Regions from separate parts of the Homo sapiens genome. Here region 2 is linked to region 1. The links are contacts of gene promoters, found by promoter capture Hi-C in blood cells and fetal thymus (Javierre and others, 2016). All regions are on one chromosome and are shown on one strand. Each heading gives the region's core, a stretch centred on a gene start or on the middle of the fragment in contact. The rest is flanking DNA. Distances are from core to core; before and after follow the strand shown. Region 1 holds the start of CCDC93 (CCC complex scaffolding subunit CCDC93). Region 2 overlaps CCDC93 (CCC complex scaffolding subunit CCDC93).

Region 1 (7,592 bases), core at 4,208-6,707:
GATGAAGATCTGATATAAGCCCTGAAAGTGGAAGTATCATATCAAAGAAAATTTTTAAGTTCTTAATATATTTTGTCAAATTACTATTGAAATCTTACTTCCTAGTCCCTATAACTCAGTTCCCCCAAACCCCAGGACTCACATCCCAGACACCCCTTCATCCCAAGACCCACATCCCAGATCCTCATACCCCAGGCCCTGCTGCTGAAGTCCTTACTGGTCAGCCTTGTGCTGAAACAAACAAGGAGAGGACTGAGAGCAGGACTGGAAGGGTAATGGGAAACTGTCCAGAACACCTCAGATGCTCCTTCTGCCAGCAATGCTTTCCCCTGAGGCCCTTCTATGGTGTCCTTTTGGGATTTAGGTCTCTCTCAAATGGCACTGCAAAGCCTAATCCTGGCCCCTTCATCTAAAAGTGACTCTGACTCTAGCTATTCTTTATTGCATTACACTGGTTTTTTTTAATTGTTGTTGTTGTAGTTGTCATTGCTTGTTTTTTGGTTTTTGTTTTTTTTGTTGTTGTTGTTGTTAATTGTAGAGACAGGTTTTTGCCATGTTTCCCAGGCTGGTCTTGAACTCCTGGGCTCAAGCAATCTGCCTGCCTCAGCCTCCCAAAGTGCTGGGATTACAGGTGTGAGCCACCACACCCAAACTACACTGTTTTTCCCCCCTTTAATAGCACCTATTTCTACCTGATATTATCTTATTAATTACATGTTTAATTTCTGTCAGTAATTATCTTGTTTGGTGTGTTGACTGCAGTATCTGCAGCATCAGGAACAGTTTCTGGCACAGAGAAACTCTTCTCAAATTGACTGCTTATTGGAATCACCTGTGAAGCTTTGAAAATCCCATTACCTACCCCCGACCAAAAGAAAGAATTGTTTAGTTATTAAATCACTTTACAAAAAAATGTAAATATTATTTTCTCCAGGAGATAGAGAATGTAGCAGATATTCTCAAACATGTTTATTTACTACTGTGTAGTTGGCCCCTTGTTGAATCCTTTTTAATGTAGCTAATAGAGTGTGGTTGTACAAACTATGAAAGTTATTGAAATTCTTTGATAAAACTATCATTTTTGGGGGAAAACGTATTGGAAGAACTCATCCAAGTGTGTGTGTGTACACGCTGTGTTTTTCTAACCTTCAGTCCAGAAGTAGAAGGGGTTTAAATCTGCTTGCACTGCCTGTGCCTCCATTATGTTACTGTAGAAATGTGACATGCTAAATATAGGATGGTGCATTATAAAATTGTACCGCTTGAGAATAGACCAGCATGCCATTAAGAATTTTTAGGAAGAACTCATTTAACCTAAGAGCTCTTTGTTTATGGATTTTGAATTTTATATGCCACTGTGATCTATAAAGAAACAAATCCATAATGAAGTCACTATTCACTACTGTGTTGTATATAAAACAATATGTTCCAAGGCAAAAAATTCAATATTCATGCCTCTCCCTAGCCCAATTAAATCAGGATTGCTAAGGGTGGAATCCAGGTGATTCCAATGTGCAGCCAAGTTTGAGAGCTACTGACATAGAAGAAACTCAGCAATATTTGTTGGATGGATGGATGGATGGATGGATGGTTGGATGGGTGAGCAAAAGAACATGGGGAATGAGAAATTTGGGGCTCTGGTTCTAGCACTCCCTCTAATGTGCTGTGTGACCTCGCTGTGTCACTCTACTTTACTGAACACCCATTGTTGCACTACATGTAGAAGGAATGAGAGAAGCCTGAAGACAGAATAATTAAAGCTTTATAGAAAACTTCCGGCTGGGAGCGGTGGCTCACGCCTGGAATCCTAGCACTTTGGAAGGCCGAGGTGGGCGGATCACGAGGTCAGGAGATCGAGACCATCCTGGCTAACACAGTGAAACCCCGCCTCTAGTAGAAATACAAAAAATTAGCCGGGCGTGGTGGCGGGCGCCTGTAGTCCCAGCTACTCGGGAGGCTGAGGCAGGAGAATGGCGTGAACCCGGGAGGCGGAGCTTGCAGTGAGCCGAGATCGCACCACTGCACTCCAGCCTGGGTGACAGAGCGAGACTCCGTCTCAAAAAAAAAAAAAAAGAAAAAAAAGAAAGAAAACTTCCTCCAGAACAAAGCTAAGCCTAACAGGAAGCTCTTTACTATGTGTATTAGGCCATTCTCCCATTGCTATAAAGAAATACCTGAGACTGGGTAATTTATAAAGAAGAGGTTTAATTAACTCACAGTTCTACAGGCTTTACAGAAAGCATGGCGCCGGCATCTGCTTGGCTTCTGGGGAGGCTTTAGGAAGATTACAATCATGGTGGAAGGTGAAAGGAGAGCAGGCATGTCACATGGTGAAAGCAAGAGCTAGAGAGGATAAGTGCCACACTTTTAAACAGCCAGATCTCGTGATGAGTGACTCAGTGTCAGGAAGACAGCACCAAGAGGATGTTGCTAAACCATTCACAAAAAATCCACCCCAACGAGCCAATCACCTCCCACCAGGCCCCACCTCCAACACTGGCTATTACATTTTGACATGAGATCTGGGTGGGACAAATATCCAAACTATATCACTATGGTACCTCTTTACCCACGAACTGGAAAGTATTTGTGAGGCTCCAAAGAGGAACATCACACAACTCTGTACTCAGTGTACAGAAGAGAGACAGAATGACTGATTTCTAGTCCTCAGATATCACACTTGGGAGACACAATTTGTGAGGGTGCCTGGAGTGAAGGGAAAGGGAGAGAGATGGATTGATCTGAGAGATTCCTCACAAGCCTCCTTGTCTGCATTGGCTGTTAAAGGTCTTCTTCAAGACTGTGAAGGGTTTCTGCTCTCAAATATGGGCTGCTTAAACTTTCTTTTTCTTTTTTAAGAGACAGTGTCTTGCTATATTGCCCAGGCTTAAGTGCAGTGGCTATTCATGGTCATGATCCCACTACTGATCAGCACAGAAGTTTTAACCTGCTCTGTTTCTGACCTGGGCCAGTTCACCACTCCTTAGGCAACCTTGCTCCCTGGAGGTCACTGTATTGATACCAAACTTAGTGCAGATCTCTGATTGGCATAGCTTACTAAAGCCCAGAACTCCTGGGCTCAAGCGATTTTCCTGCCTCAGCCTCCCGAGTTGCTGGGACATAAGCAGGTGCCACCTAGCCCTGTTCAAACTTTCTTGACGATATTATGGCTGTTTTGCTGAGATTTTTTTTTTTAAGCATGCCCCATGCCCCTCAACTCTGTTACTGTCACTCTACACCTGTTGTAACATAGGACAGTTTCTTTTTTTTTTTTTAGACAGAGTTTCACTCTTGTTGCCCAGGCTGGAGTGCAGTGGCACAATCTCAGCTCACCGCAACCTCCGCCTTCCCAGTTCAAGTGATTCTCCTGCCTCAGCCTACCAAGTAGCTGGGATTACAGGCATGCGCTGCCACGCCCGGCTAATTTTGTATTTTTAGTAGAGACGGCATTTCTCCATGTTGGTCAGGCTGGTCTCGAACTCCCAATCTCAGGTGATCCACCCGCCTCGGCCTCTCAAAGTGCTGGGATTACAGACATGAGCCACCGCGCTCGGGAAGGACAGTTTCTTACTGAGGAAGTTAGCTACTCATGCTTATTTAAAACATTGCAAAAGCATTATAACAGGGAACTCAGGGTGTGGCCTGAGTCCTGTTATTCTCCAGGCTGCTATTATATACAGCTGTTTAGGCTTGCCTGCTATGTGAGATCTTACTACCTGTTCCTAGGCATCAGTACCTGTCTGGTCACTCAACAGTGGCCACAAATTATTATCACTCTCCATTCCCCATCAACCTATACCATTTCAGTGAATGACAGTTTTAAAACTACAAAAACAACACATTTGGGAAGTTATGAGAGTAGAAATTGAAGTTTATTGGCTTCACAAAGGATAAGAGCAAGATATACCACACAGGAGGGTTCCCATCTCAATACCTTAACTTGCATATTCAGATTATTCAAATTATTGGGGACCAGGGTTTGGGGATCGTGCACAGCTTTGAGTAATATTTGCTAGTTATATTTAAGAACAAAATGGCATCCTTAGGGCAGTTCCAACTATTTGTGAGCTCTGGCTCCAGACAAACCTCTGTCTGTCAGGATGAACTCCAGGAGGAGTACAAAAGGTGCAAAAATAAAATAAAATAGAAAACATCATATATATATACACGTATATATATACACACATATATACACGTATATATATATACACACATATATATATATACACGTATATATATATAGTTTTTAGACAGGGTCTTGCTCTGTCACCCAAGCAGGAGTGCAGTGGTGTTATCATAGCTCACTGCAACCTCAACCTTCCTGGCTCAAGCAATTCTCCCACCTCAGCCTACCGGCTAGCTGGGACCACTGGCACCGGGCTAATTTTCTTATTTTTTGTAGAGATGGAGGTCTCACTATGTTGCCCAGGTTGGTCTCCAACTCCTAGGTTCAAGTGATACTCCCGCCTCGACCCCCAAAGTGCTGGGATTACAGGCATGTGCCACCGCGCCTGCCTACTCTTTTAAAGACGCTAGGGATGCAAAGAAGAGACGAAAGCAAACACGAAACCTTTTTGATCTCAAGGAACTAAAGGTCTGAGTCTGACACTTCCCATCCCACACACATATACAGAGGGAAGGATCTCTTCTCCAGCAAAAGTTTTCACGAAAGTCATCTCTTTCCTCATTGCTTAAAAGAAACAAAAAGCCAAGAAGCCGTTATGGAGCGGGTGTGGGGGCCTGTGACCTTTTGTCTAGTTGCCATCCTCCGGGACCAACAAGGGGTACATCAAATAAGGGACGCGGCGGCTCAAATGACATGAACATAGGAGTCCGCATTCTCTGAGATGTCATTCCTCCAGGAAGACCCAGGAACCGTGAATAGGGCGGGGTGGTGGGCAATATCTGAAGCGAGGTTTCCTGGGAACGCGATGCCACTGGCCAGGACGCTGGAGAGGGCAGCGGGCTTGAAGAATCCCTTCTCAAGGGGTCCGTTCCTGGGTCGTATATGGAGAAGTCTGTCCAAGCGTGTGTCTGTAAGGTCTAGAGCCGGGCGTGCATTCAGAATCCTCAAGCTCATCTGTACTTGGACTCTGACCCTGAAGCGAGGCGGTTTCCGAAGTCTGATTCACCGAGGGGACAGGACCTATTTGGGGCATCCGATGGCAGCGAGAAGAGAAGGGAGCCGAAATGCAAAATATTCTCAAGATGCAGGAGGAACCCCTCTCAAAGAGCGCCACGGAGAAAACTTCAGAGTACGGGCGCGATGATCCAGCACAACGCCAGGACCTGCAGCCCAGCCCACCTCTCCCCGGGCTGCTGTGGCGCAGGCGCAGTGGCGCCGCGCTCCGGCCCCAGCGCGCATGCTCTGCCCGGCTGCGGCGCTTCGGGCAGGCGGCGGCGGCGGCGGCGGCGGCGGCAGAGGGAGTTTCCGCTTTGTACTCCACCCCGGTAGCAGCTCCGCGGCAGGGACAGCTTCCTCCGGACGCTTGGCGGGCTTCGCTCTCGCCTTACGACAGCCCGGTCGGATCATGGGGTTGCCCAGGGGGCCGGAGGGCCAGGGTCTCCCGGAGGTAAGAACGCCTCCTCCTTCCCTGACACGTCGGGGTTCCTGAAGAGAGGGCCGAGCCGCGGGGCGGCGGGCTGAGCGGGCCCTGGGTGCGTTAGGGGCGCCCCGCCCCCTTCCTCAGGCGTATCCACCTCAGGGAAGCGCCGACCCTCTTCTTGGAGGCGGGGAGCAGGTACCCCTGCATGGGCAGGGGGCGGCGGGCGGGTGAGGACAAACTTAAGCCGCTCCCGGGTCTCTTGGGGCGCAGGTGGCCTTCCTAGCCCGACACCTGCTCTGACGCAGCCCCACGCGCCGCGGGGTCCTGGGCTCCCACCTTTCTCCCTGTCCGGGACGGGCTCCCCCACCCCGCGCCGCAGGGCTAGCCCCGAGGGCCGAGGCTGCTGGGCGCTGGAGTCACGAGACCGCTCTCCGAGGCGGTTCGGGCTCGGGTGGTGACCTTGGGACGTCTACCGCCACCCCGCAGAGTCCCGGCGGCCCGCCCCACCCGCCTTGCTGTCGGGAGGGAATGCCACCCTCCTTGCGTGGACCCGGGCCGGGGCGGCGGGAGGAAGTTTGGGAGACTTGCGCGCACCAGGGAGGTGTCCCGCTGGGTCAGCGCGCCGGGGCGTTCGGGGTGGGACGCACTCCAGGGGTGCTGTGTGGCGGGGGACCCGGCTCTGGGCGGAAAGGCTGCGGCTTCTCCAGAAGAGGGCGGGGTTCTTTTCCAAAGGTGTTTGTTAAGTACTCACTTAGTGCTAGGGAGGGGGTCATGAGTGGTTTGCGGATTTCCACGTTTGCTGGGAATACAGGGAAAGTGTATTCATTTTCTTTTGGCTGCAAATACCACTTAGCATCTCATAGGTAGTTTGCATCTGTCGTCCCTTTCAGTTGATTTTACTCAAAGGCTAGTCTAGTTTACTGGATTCTGGAGAGAAATGGAAGCCACGCCGCACCTCTGCCTTTTTCCTAAGGTTCTGGAGCAGGCATTGGGCAGGGTGACTGCTTGCTTGACGTGGTGAGTCGTCCCTTCACACTTACCTGCCAGTGACCAATGTTACTCCTCTGCATTCCTCCCAAATCCTCAGTTCTTTCATATCACAAGTATCCACTAATTGAGGGATCACTGTGTTCTGTGTCCAGAAGCTGGGAATATATATAGTCTGAAAGGACAGATTTGTTTGTCAGTGTGTGCTCCCCGAATGCAAGTCCATTTTGTTGTCTTAAGAAAACCTGACAAGCATAATGTTGTCAGAACCCCTGTATTAGGTAAAATCTTACATGCACGTTGCCTGGGATGGGACCCAGGATAGTGAACAATAGGATTTGTACTGTGACATTTGAAGTTTTCTTTTTTGCCACTTCTGTATTCTAGGCTCTCATCAAGTTTTTGCCTGGCCTTTTGCTGTAGACTTCTGTCTGGTCTCCCACGTTCTACTTTAAATCCGTCCAACCCAATATTCCACAGTACTATCAGTGGAGGTCTTTCTGGGGGGAAAATAAATAAATTAATTAATGAAGAGCAACCTGCTGCTGTATGTCCTTCGTTTAAACTTTCACTGACTGCTAAGAGGCCACACTCACCAGGTCAAGCAATAACTTATCATCATTTAGTTCAGAAGCTAGTAAATATAAATATGGATAGTCTGTGTTATTAGGATGTCACTAGACCAGTTAATTCATTAAATTCATTCTTTTTTTTTTTTTTGAGACAGAGTCTCACTCTGTCACCGAGGCTGGAGTGCAATGGCGTGAGCTCGGTTCATTGCAACCTCTGCCTCCCAGGTTCAAGCAATTCTTATGCCTCAGGCTTCCCAGTAGCTGGGATTGCAGATGTGAGCCACTGCCCTGCCCGAATTCATTCTTTTTAACCCTTTACAAAGATAGCTAGACTTGGCCTGCCTTCCAGCTTACAACAACTATAGTGGACGGAAATTGAAAGTTTATTGGGCTTTGTGTAAGAGCTCATTGTTGTTTGTCTTTGTCAGAAATTTAGCTTCAACAACTGGATGTATTAACCAGCCTGGTGGATTTTTATTGCTTCAAG
Region 2 (7,568 bases), core at 4,866-7,365, 50 kb after region 1:
TGGCCTCTTTCTTGTATTATTGGTTTATACTTCTATTTTATGCAGTTCTGTGGTAAAGTCATGCATGGTGTTTTTGTTATTTGCTTGATTTGTTTTTGTTTTGTCAGTGCTCTCCAGTCAAAGACCTAGTTTGTTCAATTAGGAACATATCTGTGGTTGAACAAGTTGGGTATATTGCTGCTTGTAGTGAGGGAGAACACATACCAATGGGAATCATGGGGCCTTTCAGTAAGAATGTGTCAGAAAGGACTTAGTATAGGATTTGGACTTATGTAAGGTGACTTGAAGGAGGGTTCAAGGAAGTGGGGCTTTGCTTTGGGTTCGATGCTGTAAGGAAGGGTGAGTCTGTCAATGAGTATCTTAATAAATCTTATCTCTAAGACATGGGGAAAATGAATCAAGGTTAAAGCTATGTATGCGTAATAGCTAGTATAGGGGATATTTGGTCATTTTTGTGATTCGGACAATGTTTATGTTTTCGTCCATGTTCGGACATACTCATAGTCATAGGGTGGCCTTGTCTGGTATTGGTGTTCTTTGAAATTGTTTATGTTTTGCAACAAGGCCTGGTTATGAGTGCAAGTCAGCCTCCCACCAACATCAATGCCTTGCTAATAGTACCAGGCTAGCTTTCAGACGTCAGGGGCTGCTTTTCTCATTCTCACGTTGTTTGTGTGGTTATCTGCTATTGTGTGGCAGTACTGCCACAAATGTAGTCACTTAAAATAACACACATTTATTGTCTCACTGTTTCTGTGGGGCAGCAGTTGGGCACAGCTTAGCAGCACCCTCTGTGAGTCTTACAAGGCTGCAGTCTCATCTGAGGCTCTACTGGGGAAGGATTCGCTTCCAAGCTTACATGGTTGTTGGCAGCATTCAGTTCCTTGCAACCTGCTCACTGAGGTCACCAGTTTTTGCTGGCCGTTAGCTGGAGGCTACCTGCAGTTCCTTGTCACATGAGCCTCTCCTACATTGCCACTTATTTCATCAAAGCTAGCAAGGGAGGGCATCTCCCTGCAGGGCAGGCATTATAGACTTACATAACGTAATTACATATATGTAATCAAAAGACTGCCTTTTCTCTGTGGTGTATTCTGTTGGTTAGAAGCAAGGCACAGCTTCCGTCCACACCCAAAAGAAAGGGGTTACACAAAGGCAGGTGTGAACATCAGCAGGTGGGAATCATGGGGCCATTGTAGAGTTGTCTACCATGGTTTGCTTATTGGTCTTTTAATCATACTGCCACAGATTGGGCTGAAACTGGACACTGGCAATGCTGCCACCTTCAGGGTCTCAGTAATATACCTTGGAAATAGAGATGGGATTGAGGAATGCCCAGGAGGGAAGCTGTTGGTAGTATCTGAGAAAAACTCACTTAGGCTGAGATCAGGATTTTTTTTTTCTTTATGAAGAGAGGGAAAAGGATAATTTGCGGGGAGGATCAAGTGTAAAAATGATTTTGTGACCAGGGAATAAATTGAATAGCCTGCCAGATGTGAGTGTTTGGAAACTTCACAGGCACTGGGATATAAAAACAAGGTAAAAAACATGTGCAGTATTCTCTTTTACTGGTAAAGTTCACAAGTTTCTTATAAGAGTGTAACATAACATGTATCTCAAAGTTCCTGAGACATGTAACTCAATATGGTTCTTGTAGAGCAGCAGAAAGAGGAATGTGAAGAAGCTTCCAGATACATAATTCATGAGTGTCCGTAGACTCTAGGCTGAGTAGCTCCATCTGCCATTGTTTCCAAAGGGTAACACCCTTCCCTGAATGTGCTACAAGAAGTACCAGTGTGCTTTTGGTGTTCATGTCTAATATTCTCACTGCATCATAGCATTTATTTTTACAGGGAAGAAGAATCTATTACTCTGATTTACAGAAAACTGAAATGCCTGACTGTCCAAAATATATTTCCGCCCTGCAACCCCCTAAGCTTGATAGGAGCCAGAAGAAAGAAAAGGAAGCTGGGCCAGGGAAGTTGCAAGGTCCCTGGGAGGGCAGGAAGGGACTTTCCCTAATGCTGCATACTAACTAACCATACACCGTTTTGACCGCTTTAATACTTAGTCTGCCAACTAAATCATTCATTGGTTGACTTCTCCCTAAGACAGGATATTGGAACATTTTGTAGCTCTAAAGGATCTGAATATTTTATAGCTCTAGAGGCACAGATTTGTCTTGGTGAATCTGAATCTACCCTGAGTGCCTCTCCATGCAGATTCTTTGTGTACCATTATCTCATTTAGTTCTTATTTTTTAATTCTAAAAAATTATCTCATTTAATTCGTATAGGCTGCCTTCCTGCTTATAATCCTCTGCCTTCCTCCATCATTATACTTATATGCAGTTGAAACTATCTGTTTATGTGGCTGTGGACCACCTTTACTCTTGTTTGTAATCTGAGAGTCTCGCTAAGGGCCCACCAGTGTTGGTGCTCTATAAATGAGTACGTGATATTATATCCATTTTGCAGGCAAAGAAACGAGATTATGTGACTTGTCCAGTGCCATACAGCTAATAAGTTCCAGGTTTGAGTGCAGGACTGTTTTGACTTTGCAATCTTTCTCCTTGGCTAGGTGGAGCTTCCTTAGGGAGAAGCAGGGACAGCCTCCTTTACCATCCTTAGTGTCTGCCTTCCAGGCTTGGCTGTGGCTGTGCCTCCTTAGACTGTCCCACTATTCAACTGCCTACCTTGGGCTATTGGTAGCTAGGGCATACCGGGAACTAACCACGGAAACAAGAGAAAGTGAAAATGGTGCAGCTCAGCCCAGGCACTCACACACCATAAACCTAAGCTGCTGAAAGCCGTGGAAGTTTGTATTTGGAGTATCTAAGTGACTCTTCATGTTTCTGGAGAATACCACATTAATGTGGTCTCATGCAGTCCTTTAAAGGGTAATATCTGGCTAGGCATGGTGGCTCACGCCTGTAATCCCAGCACTTTGGAAGGCTGAGGCAGGCAGATCACTTGAGGTCAGGAGTTTGAGACCAGCCTGGCCAACATGGTGAAACCCTGTCTCTACTAAAATACAAAAATTAGCTGGGTGTGGTGGCACATGCTTGTAATCCCAGCTACTTGGGAGGCTGAGGTGGGATTGGTAGCTTGAACCTGGGAGGCGGAGGTTGCAGTGAGCTGAGATCGCGCCACTGCACTCCAGCCTGGGCGACAGAGAGAGACTTTGTTTCAGAAAAAAAAGGCAGTGGGAGGTAATATCCTAGCCCGAAGAATGTCAACATCTTGATCTCATTTCCATAGCAAGGTGTATTTTAGATCATCAAGGGACTTATTTGTGGAAGGAATTTTTCCTTAATGGGTTTTGGAAATTTTCCTGTCCAGCAATTAAGAAATTCTGGCACCATTGCCTCTGACCTTTTGATTCTGAGAATCATTCTCTGGCAGTTAGAAGCCTTTGCTCTATCTTGAAGTCATATCTTTCCAGAGCACCTGGGGAATCTCGCCAGATAATTAGAGCTTGGGTATGGTCAAGGATGTACTTATGAAAAAACACAAAGGAAAGTGTCTCTTCTAGAAAAAGCAGACAGCCACATTTGATTAGAGCAGATCTTGTCCCCATCTATCATGATGATTTTTATTCCACTTTATGATGCAATCAGCAGAGAAGACTGCCTCTTCAGTTCTGTCACTCACTAAGTTGGACCCTTTGCCTTTTAAGCCTTTTGGGTGCAAGTAATAGGAATTCTACCCAGCATGTTGCTATAAGCAAAAGGGAGCCTTTATCAGCTCTCAGAACTGGAAGTATTTAGTGGGGGACTCAAATGGCCCTGCCATATCCCTTTACCCTTGCTTCACTTTGTCTCTGTCTTGGCTTCATCACCTTGGAGGCCTGACTGTAGACAGTTTCTGTCTTACTGCCCCCTTCCTCCATCAGTGTATAAAATCCTAAGGAAGGACTGTCCTCTGTCTGTCATGGCTTAGGTCACAGATTTCTCCCCAGGCCCATTGTTGCCAGGAGTTGGGTGTGACTGGCAGCCCCTCTGAACTAGAAAGAGTAGGAGACAGGGATTACTTTTCTACCAACAGATATGGGGCACACATGGTGGCTAGCACCCCCATAAGGCCTTCGTTTCCACTAGGCCCTCAGGAAATTTATTCAACAAAGTTGGAGGGAATTGACCCAAAAGAATCAATTGTTAATATATCGTTTGTCCTCTTAGTAGTTGCCTTCACGTTGTTATTTCTCCACCCTGGGTTTGTAACTCTTACACTTTTTCCAAACGTATGAAGTCTTCTGAAAATATATTTTTAAATTAATACAATCTTTTTATATTTTAAGTCTTTGTTTTTTTTTTCTGCCAGAGAACTGATGGAATTGACCTCATAATCACTGTCATGTGAAAGAGTGATTAGATATATTTCTTCTTTCAGCAAACACCTGTTGAGTAGATCTGCATCCAGGCAGTGTCAGGTGTAGGGGGCAGGGATTGCGTTACGCGTGAGTCAGGGTTGCGGCCCTGAGGGGCTTCCAGTAAGGAGTCAGTCAACCTGTGAAAACATAAATTACAGAATAATACAATTTGTATGCCTATAAAGTGGCTGCCGGGTGCTACTAGGTTTGTGTTATCATTTGAAGTGACAGTATCTGCCCAAAGAAAAGTTGTTGATATTTTTGTTGATATTAAAATATTTTTGCCTGATAATAACCAGGCAGAATGGATGACTTTTAAAATTATACCATGGGGTTAGAAATGGAAAAGGGAAGGGCTTAGGACTGAGTGAAGATACCACACCCCAGGGACATTGCCTGGGCCAGAAAGTAACAGGAAGCTTAGCAGCCCGGGGACCCCGACTGCTTTGTTAGAAAATCAGCCTGATCTGCCACCTGTGTGATTTCTAATAAGCTTAGATGTGAGTGTTTCCAATCCTATCATCCTGCCCAACTCAAAAAATGTTACCACTTGCTAGCAGCATCGGTTTGTGGAGTTGGGGAGAAGTGTAGTATGAGTCAGGAAAGGGGTGGGGGTGTTCCTCTCTTGGAAACCTCCTATTGTGGCCACAGATAGAAAAACCCAGGAGGGTTTGGGGGTCTAAAATCAGGAGGGGTGGGGGTCTAGGTAGATTTTTAAACCCCTTCATTCTAGATACTATTTCCTCACATAACATAATAGGTGTTGCATAAATCATATTCCTAACCTCTGAAGTTTTAGAGGGCCAATATTTCATTTTTTATCTTTGTATTCCTGTTGCTTCATTCATAATAAATACTCAGTAGAAGATAATGGATCACTTGAAGACTTTGTGGAGACTCACCTGATAGCCATTAGCAATGATTCTGGGCCAGGCACAGAGGCTCACGCCTGTAATCCAAGCATTTTGGGAGCCTGAGGCGAGAGGATCGCTTGAGGCCAGGAGTTTGAGATCAGCCTGGGCAACATGGTGAGACCCCTATCTCTACAAAATATTTTTTTAAAATTACTTGGGTATAGTGACATGTACCTCCAGTCCCAGCTCCTTGGGAGGCAGAGGCAGGAGGATTGCTTGAGCTCAGGAGTTTGAGGTTGCAGTGAGCTATGATCATGCCACTGCATTCCAGCCTGGGCAACAGAGTGAGACCCTCTTAAAAAAAAAAAAATTCTACTTCTTAAAAGAGGCTCTTCAGTGATGTTGTAGAGATCAGCTCTTTATCTCCTTTGTAGCACTTCCCTCAAGCACTGTTTCGTTTGTTTCTTTGCTTGTCTCCCAGGACTAGAATGTTTGCTTTCCAGGAGGGCTAGGATTATAGTATACTCTCAGTGCCCAACACAATTGGGTTTTCACAGATATTTGCTGAAGGAAAGAAGAAAGGAAGAGAGGGAGAGGAAGGAACAACAGCAGCTTTCAAAACCCTTTTCCTCTGTGACACAATTTAGGCATTGAGGAGAATGCAGAGGATGCAACACCTTTACTTACGAATTAGCTGGTTTTGTCTGGCTAGATTATGAAGGGCCAGAGGTACAGTCTTTGTCTTTTCCCACTTCCCCAGTGCATACCACCGTGCCCCCACACAATAAGATCTGAGTAAAGATTAGCTGAAATAAGCCAAGGAAGGTGGGGAGAGAGATTTAAAATTTTAATCAGAGTTAAGAGAGTAAGGAACCCTGTAAATCTGGAGAGAACAATGCTAAATATGTTTCTGTTTACAAACGGCTCTAAGATTTCCTGAATTCGGATCGACTCTTACGTAATTAGTATACAATACCTAACTGCAAGGATAATGGTATCAACTAATGAATTGTCAGCCTGGTAAAATGATCTCAAGCCACACAGCACAACTTATACATTTCAGAGTCCGTATCAATTTGCATAAAGACTTGGACTTTAGCCTTGCCAGATTTGAGCATCACTTAAAGCATCACTTGCAAAGATAATTGGAACATCACTTAAGAAAAATGAAAAAACTGTTGAATTTCAGAAAAGTGAGTTGTACCAATTCATGATTTGGTGAGGATGCCATCTGACCTGACAGTAGTGTATGGGGATTAAAGAGGAGGTTTTGGATTTTGTTCACACCTCCTAAATGTTAAGTGCATTCTGAGCAGGCACACCGCATTACTCACAGTGGGACCCAAAGCAAAGCCTTAGACTCAACAAGGTTACATAACTATGGGTTTTTGAAATTCATGGAATTTCATTAGTGGGTTTTAAAAATATTGAAAAGAGCATTCATGTATTGAGTTTCATTTTTGGAAGCAGAATATAGATCAGGGAAAGTGGATGATTCCCTCCTATCTGCAGTGGTCACACATCATCAGGAGTGCTTTAGAAGTTCACTTACAAACTAGGATAACATCCAAGGTGGTGAAAGGTGTCAGCATCTTGTTATAGAAAGGACAGGTGGAAGAGCTGTAGACACTTAGTTGAACTGTTATCTGAAAGAGTGATTAGATTTAATCTGTTGCTTTAGGGAGGAATGGGCATGCTTGTATGTATATGGTGTGTGCATTGGGAGGGGGTGTATTTGAATAAGTCTTTACAGATGCAGTTCTGCTGTCTGTTTTCACTGGCTTTTGTTTATGGTAGTTTGACTTCTTGTCTGCTTTTGATTTTTGACTGTGAGCCCCATATCCCTTAGAAGTTTATCTGTAGGAACTATTTGAGGCCTAGGATTGAAGCTCTGTTCTTTCAGGGAAGATCTGCTTTTGCTTCTGCCAAGCACCTGGGGATACTTCAGCCCAAGTGCATTTTATACCTAGTCCTTACTTATGGGTTTTTTGCCCCAAAGTAGTGTGTGAATTAGGATTGCAGAACTGCATGAGGTCCAATCTGTTGTTACAAAATCTCATTGTGGATTTTTTCCCTCTTACAGCTGTATCAAGATTTATGTGGTAAAAAGTTGTTACTGAATTGTAAAAATCAAAGCTTGTGATCATCAGGTTTTGGCAAATACTCTCAGGAAAAAAAGCCAACTTCAGTGGGTACATATACATTCCTGGATTCCCACTTTCAGTTACTTTTTGGCCTTCCGAAATTTAACATTCTTGCTAGTTCTTAGATTTAAAAACATTTTTAAATAAATATTTCACATAGTCTGTTTACTTGTCTTTATTTATTTATTTGAGGCAGAGT

What was found. The method cuts DNA at HindIII sites, captures the fragments that hold promoters and counts their contacts. A CHiCAGO score of 5 or more calls a contact.
Region 2: a contact is called between a fragment that was not itself captured here and the fragment with the promoter of CCDC93 in region 1, in 1 of 17 cell types (monocytes). The highest score is 6.0, in monocytes.

The regions. Positions count from the first base shown.
Region 1 is chr2:118,011,935-118,019,526 of GRCh38, reverse strand. CCDC93 (CCC complex scaffolding subunit CCDC93) reads left to right here and starts at 5,457. Exons shown (of 24, transcript NM_019044.5): 1 at 5,457-5,573. The coding sequence starts at 5,532. It also overlaps the pseudogene RN7SL111P. RefSeq lists silencers at 5,250-5,449, 5,920-5,969. The HindIII fragment of the contact is 9,438 bases long and covers 1,763-7,592 here.
Region 2 is chr2:117,962,633-117,970,200 of GRCh38, reverse strand. All of the region lies in intron 11 of CCDC93 (CCC complex scaffolding subunit CCDC93), which reads left to right. Among named protein-coding and RNA genes, the nearest start is that of CCDC93, 48 kb to the left of the region's middle. The HindIII fragment of the contact is 2,497 bases long and covers 4,867-7,363 here.